Regions from separate parts of the Homo sapiens genome. Here regions 1, 2 and 3 are each linked to region 4. Evidence: promoter capture Hi-C in 16 types of primary human blood cells and fetal thymus (Javierre and others, 2016). All regions are on one chromosome and are shown on one strand. The core of a region is centred on a gene start or on the middle of the fragment in contact, and the rest is flanking DNA. Distances in the headings are between cores, read along the strand shown. Region 1 overlaps PAQR8 (progestin and adipoQ receptor family member 8). Region 2 overlaps PAQR8 (progestin and adipoQ receptor family member 8). Region 3 has its middle 26 kb from the start of PAQR8. Region 4 holds the start of TRAM2 (translocation associated membrane protein 2).

The links. Contacts are between HindIII fragments. The CHiCAGO score rates a contact against its expected background, and 5 or more counts as called.
Region 1: a fragment that was not itself captured here is called in contact with the fragment with the promoter of TRAM2 in region 4 in 4 of 17 cell types (naive CD8 T cells, non-activated CD4 T cells, total CD8 T cells and 1 more); the score reaches 6.8 in naive CD8 T cells.
Region 2: a contact is called between a fragment that was not itself captured here and the fragment with the promoter of TRAM2 in region 4, in 10 of 17 cell types (non-activated CD4 T cells, naive CD8 T cells, endothelial precursors and 7 more). The highest score is 10.6, in non-activated CD4 T cells.
Region 3: a contact is called between a fragment that was not itself captured here and the fragment with the promoter of TRAM2 in region 4, in 2 of 17 cell types (non-activated CD4 T cells and naive CD4 T cells). The highest score is 5.5, in non-activated CD4 T cells.

The regions. Positions count from the first base shown.
Region 1 is chr6:52,384,378-52,387,077 of GRCh38, forward strand. All of the region lies in intron 1 of PAQR8 (progestin and adipoQ receptor family member 8), which reads left to right. Among named protein-coding and RNA genes, the nearest start is that of PAQR8, 24 kb to the left of the region's middle. RefSeq lists an enhancer at 1,808-1,917. The HindIII fragment of the contact is 3,951 bases long and covers 1-2,700 here.
Region 2 is chr6:52,401,848-52,404,547 of GRCh38, forward strand. It overlaps PAQR8 (progestin and adipoQ receptor family member 8), which reads left to right. Exons shown (of 2, transcript NM_133367.5): 2 at 1,315-2,700. The coding sequence starts at 1,367. The coding sequence ends at 2,431. Among named protein-coding and RNA genes, the nearest start is that of EFHC1, 17 kb to the right of the region's middle. The HindIII fragment of the contact is 3,631 bases long and covers 1-2,700 here.
Region 3 is chr6:52,335,297-52,337,996 of GRCh38, forward strand. No RefSeq gene overlaps it. Among named protein-coding and RNA genes, the nearest start is that of PAQR8, 26 kb to the right of the region's middle. RefSeq lists an enhancer at 1,821-1,990 and a cis regulatory region at 1,906. The HindIII fragment of the contact is 1,522 bases long and covers 604-2,125 here.
Region 4 is chr6:52,575,610-52,578,309 of GRCh38, forward strand. TRAM2 (translocation associated membrane protein 2) reads right to left here and starts at 1,451. Exons shown (of 11, transcript NM_012288.4): 1 at 1,187-1,451. The coding sequence starts at 1,306. TRAM2-AS1 (TRAM2 antisense RNA 1) reads left to right here and starts at 1,593. Exons shown (of 3, transcript NR_103446.1): 1 at 1,593-2,700. RefSeq lists a silencer at 1,164-2,023. The HindIII fragment of the contact is 3,868 bases long and covers 255-2,700 here.

The DNA.
Region 1 (2,700 bases), core at 188-2,687, 190 kb before region 4:
ACCTAGCAAAGGTGTGGCGGGTGGAGGGTGAGGAGTGCTGGTTAGGGCAGAGTGAAATGGCTAGCACTGGGTTGGGTTTGTATTGGGATGGCAGTGAGTCCAAATGCAATGGGTCACTGAGAGAAGAAGAGTTGAGAGACTAGAGGTTATGAGACACCCAAAAAGTATCTTTAGCAGGTGTGATGAAATATTACAGGTGGAAGTTAGGAGTGTTGTAATCAAGGAGGAGGAATTTCAAACCTGAAATCTTGGAGCTAAAATAATTCTAAGTTAGAAAAAGAATACTATTCTGAAATTCATATGGAAACAAAGAGCCTAAATAGTGAAAGCAATCCTAAGCAAAAGGAACAAAGCCAGAGGCATCACATTACCCAACTTCAAAATACTACAAGGCTATAGTAACCAAAAGGCTACAGTAGCATGGTACTGGTACAAAAAAAGACACACAGACCAATGGAATAGAGAACCCAGAAATAAAGCTGCACGCCTACAATCAACTGATCTTTGATAAAGTTGACAAAAATAAACAATGGGGAAAGGATATCCTATTCAATAAATGGTGCTGGGAAAACTGGCCAACCATATGCAGAAGAATGAAACTGGTCTCCTACCTATCACCATATACAAAAATTAACTCACAATGGATTAAAGACTTAAATGTATGATATGGTTTGGCTGTGTCCCCACCCAATCTCATCTTGAATTGTAGCTCCTATAATGCCTACGTGTTGTGGGAGGGACCCGTTGGGAGATAATTGGATCATGGGGGCAGTGTCCCCCATACTGTTCTCGTGGTAGTGAATAAGTCTCACAAGATCTCATGGTTTTATTAGGGGAAACCCCTTTCACTTGAGAGGGGGAAACCCCTCTCATTCTCTCTCTACTGGCTGCCATATAAGACATCCCTTTTCTCTTCCATCGTCTTCTGCCATGATTGTGAGGCCTCTCCAGCCATGTGGAACTGTGAGTCAGTTAAACCTCTTTACTTTATAAATTACCTAGTCTCAGGTATGTCTTTGTCAGCAGCATGAAAATAGACTAATACAATGTAAGACCTCAAACTATAAACATCCTTCAAGAAAATCTAGGAAGTACCCTTCTCGACATAGGCCTTGGGGAAGATTTATAACTAAGTCCTCAAAAGCATCTGCAACAAAAACAAAAAATTGACAAGTGAGACCTAATTAAACTAAAGAGCTTCTGCAAAGCAAAAGGAAAACTATTGGCCATGCACCATGGCGTATGTCTGGAATTCTAGCACTTTGGGGGGCAAGGTGGGTAGATTGCCTGAGCCCAGGAGTTTGAGACCAGCCTGGGCAACATGGTGAAACCCCACTCTCTACAAAAAAATACAAAAAATTAGCTGGGCATCTGGTGTGCGCAGGTAGTCCCAGCTACTTGAGAGGCTGAAGTGGGAGGATCACCTGAGCCTGGAAAGGTTGAGGCTACAGTGAGCCATGATCACACCACTGCTCTCCAGTCTAGGTGACAGAGTGAGACCCTGTCTCAAAACAAAAAAGAAACTTTCAACAGAGGAAACAGACAACCTACAGAATGGGAGAAAATATTCATACATTATGCAGGGGTCTAATATCCAGCATCTATAAGGAACTTTAAATCACCAAGCAAAAAACAACTCAATTAAAAAGTGGGCAAAGGAAATGAGCAGACACTTCTCAAAAGAAGACAGACAAGTGGCCAAAAACATATGAAAAAATGCTCAACATCACTAATCATTAGAGAAATGCAAATCAAAACTACAACCAGATACTATCTCACACCAGTCAGAATGGCTATTATTTAAATTAAAAAAAAATAACAGGTGTTGGTGAGGCTGCAGAGGTTAGGGAACGTTTATACAGTGTTGGTGAGAATGTAAATTAATTTCAGCCACTGAAGAAAGCAGTTTGGAGATTTCTCAGAGAACCAAACACAACTACCATTTGACCTAGCAACCACATTACTGGGTATGTACTCAAAGGAAAACAAATTGTTCTACCAAAAAGACACATGTACTCATATGTTCATCACAGCACTATTCAAAAATAGCAAAGATCAACCTAGGAATGAACCTCAGTGCCCATCAACAGTGAATTGAATAAAGAAATTGTGGTATGTACACATAATGGAATACTGTGGAGCTGTAAAACAGAATTTGCAGCAACATTATCTTAAGTGAATTAATGCAGAAACAGAAAACCAAATACCACATGTTTTTACTTATAAGTAAGAGCTAAACATTGGGTATACATGGACATAGAGAAGGGAAAAATAGACACAGGACTACAAGAAGGGAGAAGGAGGGACCGGGGCAAGGTTGAAAAACTACCTGTTGGGTACTATGCTCACTACCTGGATGATGGACTCAGTCATACCGCAAACCTCAGCATCATGCAATATACTCTTGTAACAAACCTGCACATATACCTCCTGAATAGAAAAGAAAAGTTGAAAAATTTTTAAAATGAAGTAATTCTGAGTGATAAACAATCACAACCTTTGTAGATACTACAGGTTAGGCAGGTAGGTAATTGTAATATCATGGAGATGAAAGCTGTAGCTTTGTGATAGTTTACAATTACTGATCTGAACTGAGTAGATTGACTTTTCAAATGAAGCTCTTCTATGGAATAACTAATGATTTTTTTTTTTGAGACGGAGTCTCACTCTGTCACCCAGGCTGCAGTGCAGTGGCACAAT
Region 2 (2,700 bases), core at 73-2,572, 170 kb before region 4:
ATATTTGTAATTCTTATACTTCAATATGATATTTCATGCTATTAAAGCCTGTTTATTACATTTTAATATCGAGAAAAGCCCATATCCTTTAAAGGTTACCTTACTTATAATTAAATCTTGATAATCATTAAGTCATTGGTATCACTAAATTATGTTAGGGTAGCTAACATTTCCATTTTACAAGATGTAACTTTGCCTCACACTGAGTGTAGTAAACATAGAATATTGGGACAGGCCAGGCATGGTGGCTTAACGCCTGTAATTCCAGCACTTTTGGAGGATGAGGTGGGAAGATCATTTGAGGTTAGAAGTTCGAGACCAGCCTGGCCAACATGGTGAAACCCCATCTCTACTAAAAATATAAAAATTAGCTGGGTGTGGTGGTGCATGCCTGTAATACCAGCTACTTGGGAGGCTGAGGCAGGAGAATTGCTTGAACCCGGGAGACGGAAGTTGCAGTGAACCAAGATTGCGCCACTGCATCCCAGCTGGGCGACAGAGCAAGACCCTGTTTCAAAAAAAATCTTCGGGAGGCTGAGGTGGGCGGATCACCTGAGGTCGGGCGTTCCAGACCAGCCTGACCAACATGGAGAAACCCCATCTCTACTGAAAATACAAAATTAGCCAGGCGTGGTGGCACATGCCTGTAATCCCAGCTACTTGGGAGGCTGAGGCAGGAGAATTGCTTGAACCCGGGAGGCGGAGGTTGTGGTGAGCCGAGATGGTACCATTGCATTCCAGCCTGGGCAACAAGAGTGAAACTCTGTCTCAAAAAAAAAAAAAAAAAAGAAAGAAAGAAAAAAAAGAATATTGGGACAGTAAGGGATCTTGGTCCAACTCCATTATTCTACAGATGAATTAAAGGAGGCTCAAAGAAGCTGTCTGCAGCTCCTTGCTTCCTCTACTGTACCAGAAAGCCACGTTGCATTAAAATAACCACGGATCCTAGCCGGCCTGGTGGCTCACGCCTGTAATCTCAACACTTGGGGAGGCTGAGGAGGGAGGAGTGCTTGAGCCCAGGAGTTTGGGCCCAGCCTGCTGTACATAGCGACACCCCTGTCTCTACAACAACAGCAGCAACAAAAAATTATCCGGGCGTGTTGGCGTGCATCTATGGTCCTAGCTACTCTGGAGGATCACCTGAGCCCAGGAATTAGAGGTTGCAATGAGCTGTGATCGTGCCACTGCACTCTAGCCTGGGCGACAGAGTGATACCCCGTCTCAAAAGAAAAGAAAATAGCCATAGTTCCTTGTCCGTCTTAGCTGCATTCGTGTCTCACTGCGGCTTTGCCAATTTTCCTTTCTTTTCTGCAGGTTGCATACCCTGTCCTGAGGGCGCGGCACGGAGTGCATGCGGGCCGCTGCCATGACGACCGCCATCTTGGAGCGCCTGAGCACCCTGTCGGTCAGCGGGCAGCAGCTGCGCCGCCTGCCCAAGATCCTGGAGGATGGGCTTCCCAAGATGCCTTGCACTGTCCCAGAAACGGATGTGCCCCAGCTCTTCCGGGAGCCTTACATCCGCACCGGCTACCGCCCCACGGGGCACGAGTGGCGCTACTACTTCTTCAGCCTCTTTCAGAAACACAACGAGGTGGTCAACGTCTGGACCCATTTACTGGCAGCCCTGGCCGTCCTCTTGCGATTCTGGGCCTTTGCCGAGGCTGAGGCCTTGCCATGGGCGTCTACCCACTCCCTGCCTCTGCTCCTCTTCATCCTGTCGTCAATCACTTACCTCACCTGCAGCCTTCTGGCCCACCTGCTGCAGTCCAAGTCAGAGCTCTCCCACTACACCTTCTACTTTGTGGACTATGTTGGCGTGAGCGTTTACCAATATGGCAGTGCTTTGGCTCATTTCTTCTACAGCTCTGACCAGGCCTGGTATGACCGGTTCTGGCTTTTCTTCTTGCCAGCAGCTGCCTTCTGTGGCTGGTTATCTTGTGCTGGCTGTTGCTATGCCAAATATCGTTACCGGAGGCCTTATCCAGTCATGAGGAAGATCTGTCAAGTGGTGCCAGCAGGTCTGGCTTTTATCCTAGACATCAGCCCTGTGGCACACCGTGTGGCGCTCTGTCACCTGGCTGGCTGCCAGGAGCAAGCAGCCTGGTACCACACCCTCCAGATCCTCTTCTTCCTGGTTAGCGCTTATTTCTTCTCCTGCCCCGTGCCTGAGAAGTACTTCCCGGGTTCCTGTGACATCGTGGGCCATGGGCATCAGATCTTCCATGCATTTCTGTCCATCTGTACGCTCTCCCAGCTGGAGGCCATCCTCCTGGACTACCAGGGGCGGCAGGAGATCTTCCTGCAGCGCCATGGACCCCTATCTGTCCACATGGCCTGCCTCTCCTTCTTCTTCCTGGCTGCCTGCAGTGCTGCCACCGCAGCCCTTCTGAGGCACAAAGTCAAGGCCAGACTGACCAAGAAAGATTCCTGAGGCTGGCAAGTGGGGCAACGTGTGGAGGAAGCCCCTCATAATTTGGAGAAAACTTGATACAATAGAAGCTGACTTTTAAGGCATTGGCTTTTAAATTAATACATATATCCAAGGATATGTTATAGCTGCAGTGTTTGAAAGCCAAAGGATTTAAGAGTTTTGTTGTTGTTAATAAAAGGAATACTCCTTTTCCTTTTGGATCATAGCTTAACAAGGCACAGGAAGGGAAGGGATCTTGACTAAGATTCATGAGACATTGAATTAAGGAG
Region 3 (2,700 bases), core at 115-2,614, 240 kb before region 4:
CCCTTTTCTTTGTTCCTTCTCATGGGAACACATCAATAAAGGCACCTACTGGTGGCCAAAGGGGGCTCTCTGATGCCACCACCCCATTCCCTATCCTACCCTTTATCCCATCCTTTATTCCTGTCAGAGACTAAACAGAGACAGGGGAATGAGTTTTCACTGTGGATTACTTAATTTTTTTAGGTCACAGTGTTCTAATCAGTAATCATCCATCTTTCTGTTACCTCATTCTGTGAGGCGAAGAATTTAAAGCCTGCTTGAATTCAAGGTCAGGCTGCCTTCTGCAGCTGGAGGCATCCCCAGCAGGCCAAGGCTTCACTCTCTCAGCTGGTGTCAGGGACCCTTAGGGAGTGGACAGAATAGCATGTGGAAAGAGGCAGTGTGACCAGCCTTGCCACCTGTTTCACAGGTGGCACTGCTGGCTGAGTCAGTCTGCTAAGGAGGACAGCCCTGGAACTGGTCAGAGAAGGCTTAGTAAATCTCTTCTGATTGCTAACCTCTGAGACCTCACAGCCTATAATTTCCCAAGACAGACCTGTTATTACAAACAGTCAACCTAGTAATCACTGCCCAAGCCCAGGTGTCCTGAAGAAGTAGGGTGGAAGCTTGCATTGAAAAAGGAAAATGATAAGGAGATATTTGCCCAGCAAAGATATTCTGTAGAACAGATAACATGGGCACATTGTACTGCCTTCCTCCATCTTCCCACAGCACCTACCAAAGTCCTGGCAAGCCATCAAATTAGGCTTATAGGTAGCTGCCCTTTCTGAAGGCTACATTCAAATTTTTCTAAAAGATAATTTGATTTCATTCAGTTCAACCCAGTGAGTTTATACATTTATTTTAGCATCTATTCTATGCTTGGTACTGTGAGGATGAGCCATGAATTAAAACATCAGGTCAGCGTATACTCGACACAGTTGTAGAAATGAGAACCTTTACTTTTTCACAGTGAAGACCGAGGAAGCTGAAAAGAATGCTTTTGGTTTTCTTCCCTCTACCCCAGACTCTCCCAAGGCCATACTTTTCTCTCTCTCTCTCACTCTGGGGGAAGAAATATTGAAATTTTTTATCTAAGGCTTTTTCCTAGAATTTGAACTGCATAGGGAACATTGCTTCATCATCAACATTTTCTTTCATTTTCAACCTCTTTCCACCTGCCCTAAAAACATGTTTGAATCTAACCCACCCCTACTGTTCTTTCTCTACCTTCATTTCTTCCTGGGATACAGTTTTTCATCTTTTGCTCATGCAATTAATTATTCATTCATTAATTTAACAAATATTTAGTGATGAACAGTATGAGTAAGGCCCTTTCCTACGCTGGAGACAAAAATGAATAAAGCCTTGTTCCTTTAATGAAGCAGTCCCTAACCTTTTTTGACACCAGGAACTGTGTGGCCTAAGTGAGTTACATATTCCCTCTGAGACTCAGTTTACCCTAAGATTCTGTTAACTGGGAATAACTATGTATTTGAGAGTTATTGTGAGGGTTAAATGATATATCGTGTGAAAAGCTCCTGTCACATGGTCAGTGCTAAACAAATATTAGTCACCTTTCCTTGCATGACACTATACATTCTTAGCTCTTTGCCCATTTCTCAGACTGCTTAACCTAGAATTTCTTTGCTGGATCTGTGTTATCCCTATCCCCCTGAATTGTAGGCATTACTTAATAGAAATTTGTTTTTGAGGGTTACCCAGGATCCCCTCACCAAAATTCCAGGGAAAGTTCAGGACTGTAGTTTGGAGACCCCGCCCCTTCCCACTTCCAGCACCATCCCTCATCCCCAGCCTGAGTGGTCTTGGGACAGCAGAAATGGGGGTGACATGTGACCCAGGTTTGGCCAATCAGAGCCTTGCATTCTCCTGAAAGAACAACGATTGGTTCAATGATGGGCACGACACTCCTCTAGACTTCTTTGCTTATATGAGCCGCGAATTCCTCTTTTTGCTTAAGCTCTTTGGATTGGGCTTTCTGACACTTAGAAGCAAAGGAGTTTGAACTGAGAGAGAAATAAGTTAACACTCACTCCTCATTCATTTAACAAATGCTTACTAAGCATCTTCCATTTACTAAACACTGTGCTAAGAAAGTGGCTAGACACCATCCCTATCTTCAAGAAGCTTATAGTTTCATAAGAGAAAAGTAAGTAGGTAATGACAATACAGTGCTATTGGAACTACAGAAAGGGGCTGTACCACACGCTCTTAAAGCCCATAGAGGGGACAATCTAAGTTGGTGTCATGGAAGGCTTTCCAGAGTGTATAATCTACATGGAGACCCAAAAGATACAAGGCCAGGCAATGATAAGGGGAGGGGTGAAGAATGTTTCATGCAGTGAGAAATGGTAAGCAAAGGCTTAGAGAAAATAGCACATGGCATTTTTGGAGACCTGTAAGAAGTGTAATAGTGTTCTAGGGAGAAGGTCAATCAAGAATCTAGAGAGGTAAGCAAGAGCTAAACCATGAAAGACTCTGTAAGCTTAAGGAGTTTCAGTGGCAATTTGAAAGCCTTTGAGCAGGCACGTAGGAGGAAATGGTCACCTACTGCTGCAAACACAAATGTGTCATCCATTCCCACAGCTGTAAATCTCCTCTACTTCTAGGTAGATTAGGTCCCAATCTATGTCTCGGGCCTTGTCTTGAGCTCCAGGTAGGCAACTCCATGAGGATTTCCTATGGGAACTTCAGATAAAT
Region 4 (2,700 bases), core at 201-2,700:
TTCGTAGAGATACAGGGAACCCGAGACAGAGGGACAGGGAAGGAAATTTAGCCAGGCAAGCCATCCTCCATCTCCAAGGAAGTTTGTAAATGATCACAGCTTCCTAACCCAACCGTGAGAATGCAATAAGCAAGCTGACGCAGAAGGGAGGACAAGGAGTCTCAGGAACCAGAGGAGACCACGGTGAGAGTGAGGGGAATGTCGCTCACATATCTCACTTCTGAGACAAGATATACCGCAACAAACCCATGCCAAGCTTCCTCCAGTTCTTCCCACTTTTGAATATCACATTTTTCTTGCTCTGCAAGAGTAGGGAATCCTTCCCATCAGTCTTGTGAATTCTGACCCCTTGCTGGCTTTCTACAACTCCCTGCCTGGGAGGCCGACACCAGGACATTGCTGTTGGGGGTGGGATCCCCATCCTCTGCCCCCCACTCCTACACTATAAGAGAATCAACTTTCCCCAAAAAGTGGAGGGTATCCCTGTCTCTCTTCTTGTCTCTGTAAAGGGGGTGAAGCTCTGGGTCGCCGCAGATGGATCTAAAGGGACAGTTCACGGAGTGGTAAAGGATATCCAAAAATTGGCCTTCTAGAGCACAGCAAAAAAGTGGGAGCGAGACGAGAGCAGAAGGCCACTGCTGGGATGGGGCCAGGGCCACACGTGAACATCCGAGCACGTTCCAGAGCTGAGATGCAAAACACCCAGAAAATCACATAGGAAGTGGAAAAGGTTCTGGGTCTCTCCCACTGGAAAAGCCCAGAAGAGCTAGTGGCCACCCCTTGGGGCAAGAGGGGGTTGTGCAATGACTGCGGGTCTGGGAGTCTCTGGGCTTGGCTCCTGGACGCCAGAAAGGGAACCCCACGCGTCAAGCCATGGTGGCAGCGCGGCGGTTGGTTCGAGGCCAGGCTGGGGTTTCAGGGCTGCAGACAGAGCTGCAGGATACGATGAGTGCCCAAGGGGGCGGCAGAGCATGGCATGGCTGGCACGGCGCGGAGCTGGGGGTGCTGTCTGGGCTGGCCGGGGTACAGGCCGGAGGGGTACAGTGCACAAAGCCGGGGTGCAGATAACGTACACGGCAGCCAGGAGCCTCCGATCAGAGGAGGGCCCGCTGACCTGCAGGGGTGTGCCGGGCGGTGCACGACAGGGGGCACTGTCCCTCCAGCTCCCTCCTCCCCAGGCTCTCACCTCGAACATAAGCCCGATGAGGACGCAGAGCACCAGGCAGAAGCCGATGTCCGCATGGTTGTGGATGACGAACTCCTGGCTGAAGAGCGGGTAACTTTTCGTCCTCCTGCGGAAAGCCATGGCAGCGGGCGCGCAGCGGCCGGCGGGGCCCGCACCCTGCGCTCACGAACCGCAGCGCAAACTTCTCCAGCACCGGCCCGGTCCGCCCGCCGGCCCGCCGCCCGCTCTCCCACAGCCGCTCGCCCGCCCAGCGCGGAACAACTTCGGGGCCCGCCCCCTTCCTCCGCCCGCCCCCGGCCGCCCGTAACCGCCCCCGGCCGCAGCCCCCGCCCAGCCCCCGCCCAGCCCGCGGCCCGCACTCGGCGCGCCTGGCCCCGCCCCCCGCGGGCTTAACCCTCTAGCCGCTGGGCACGCGCGGGCTACCGGGGCGGAGGCGTACGGGGGCGGCGAGCGGGGCTCGGCTCCTCCTCGTCCCGCGCCAGCGCCGCGCCCGGCCGCATTCTCGGGGCCCGAGGCTCAGCCGCTCGCGGTGGAGAAAGCAGGCCGCGGAGGAGGCGGGCGCCCAGGCCTGCCCGGACAGGAAGTGGGCCCAGCTTTCCCACTCCTCGCTCCGCTCCTTCCTCCGCGGGAAGGGCAGGCCCCGGAGGCAGCGAGCGCCCCGGGGGTGGCCGGGCAGCCGGATGCTCCCGGGGTTGCGGGCTGTGGCCCCGGGGGCTGAGGGCGGCGCGGGTGCGGCGGAAGCAGGGAAGCCGCGAACCGGCCTTCTGGCTGGCCACAGCGCCCTGCACGGACGATCAGTGAATGGAGATTACTCAAGTATTTATCGAGAACTTGCAGTGGGCTAGGCACAGTTCAGGTAGATCAACAAACCGAAAGACCCTGCCCTAGGGGAGCTTTCGCTCCAATGCGGGGAGAGGGTGGATGATTGCAGTTTTGCCCAGTAATTTTTGGGACCCTCATGCCACCATTAATTAGCTACACACATTTCACCGAAAGTCTACCTTACATATTAATCAGAAGAAGTGGAAGAATAAACACAGAAGAAGCAAAAAAGGAAGGAACTTTCTCACTGAAAGTTTCTATTTAATATTAAGTCTTAAAAGTACTCCTGGAAGGACAAAAGGTGTTCTTAATAAATTATATTCGCAAATATTGGATTTAATCCTACCAGTAATGAAGCAGTCAGTTACTTTCTAGATGTGCAGAAATACGTAATGAACAAAAAAAACTAATTCCTATTCCATTTTTTATTAGGTCCACAGTTATTTCACTTCTAAATAAATATGGTTTTTTAAAAGTGGCACGCGGTGGAATGTAATTGAGACAGGATGGAGTTCCTAGAGAAATTTTACTTCCTCAATCTGCACTCCACCTTACTTAAAATACAGTCTTGGGTCTGTAATTCCCTTATCTGACTCTCAAGGAAATGACAAAGTAATGCCTAGATTGGACTAAACCTCATTTAACTTCAAGGCTGACCTTTCTCAAAGTTGAACCTTCGTCTTGTGAGGAAC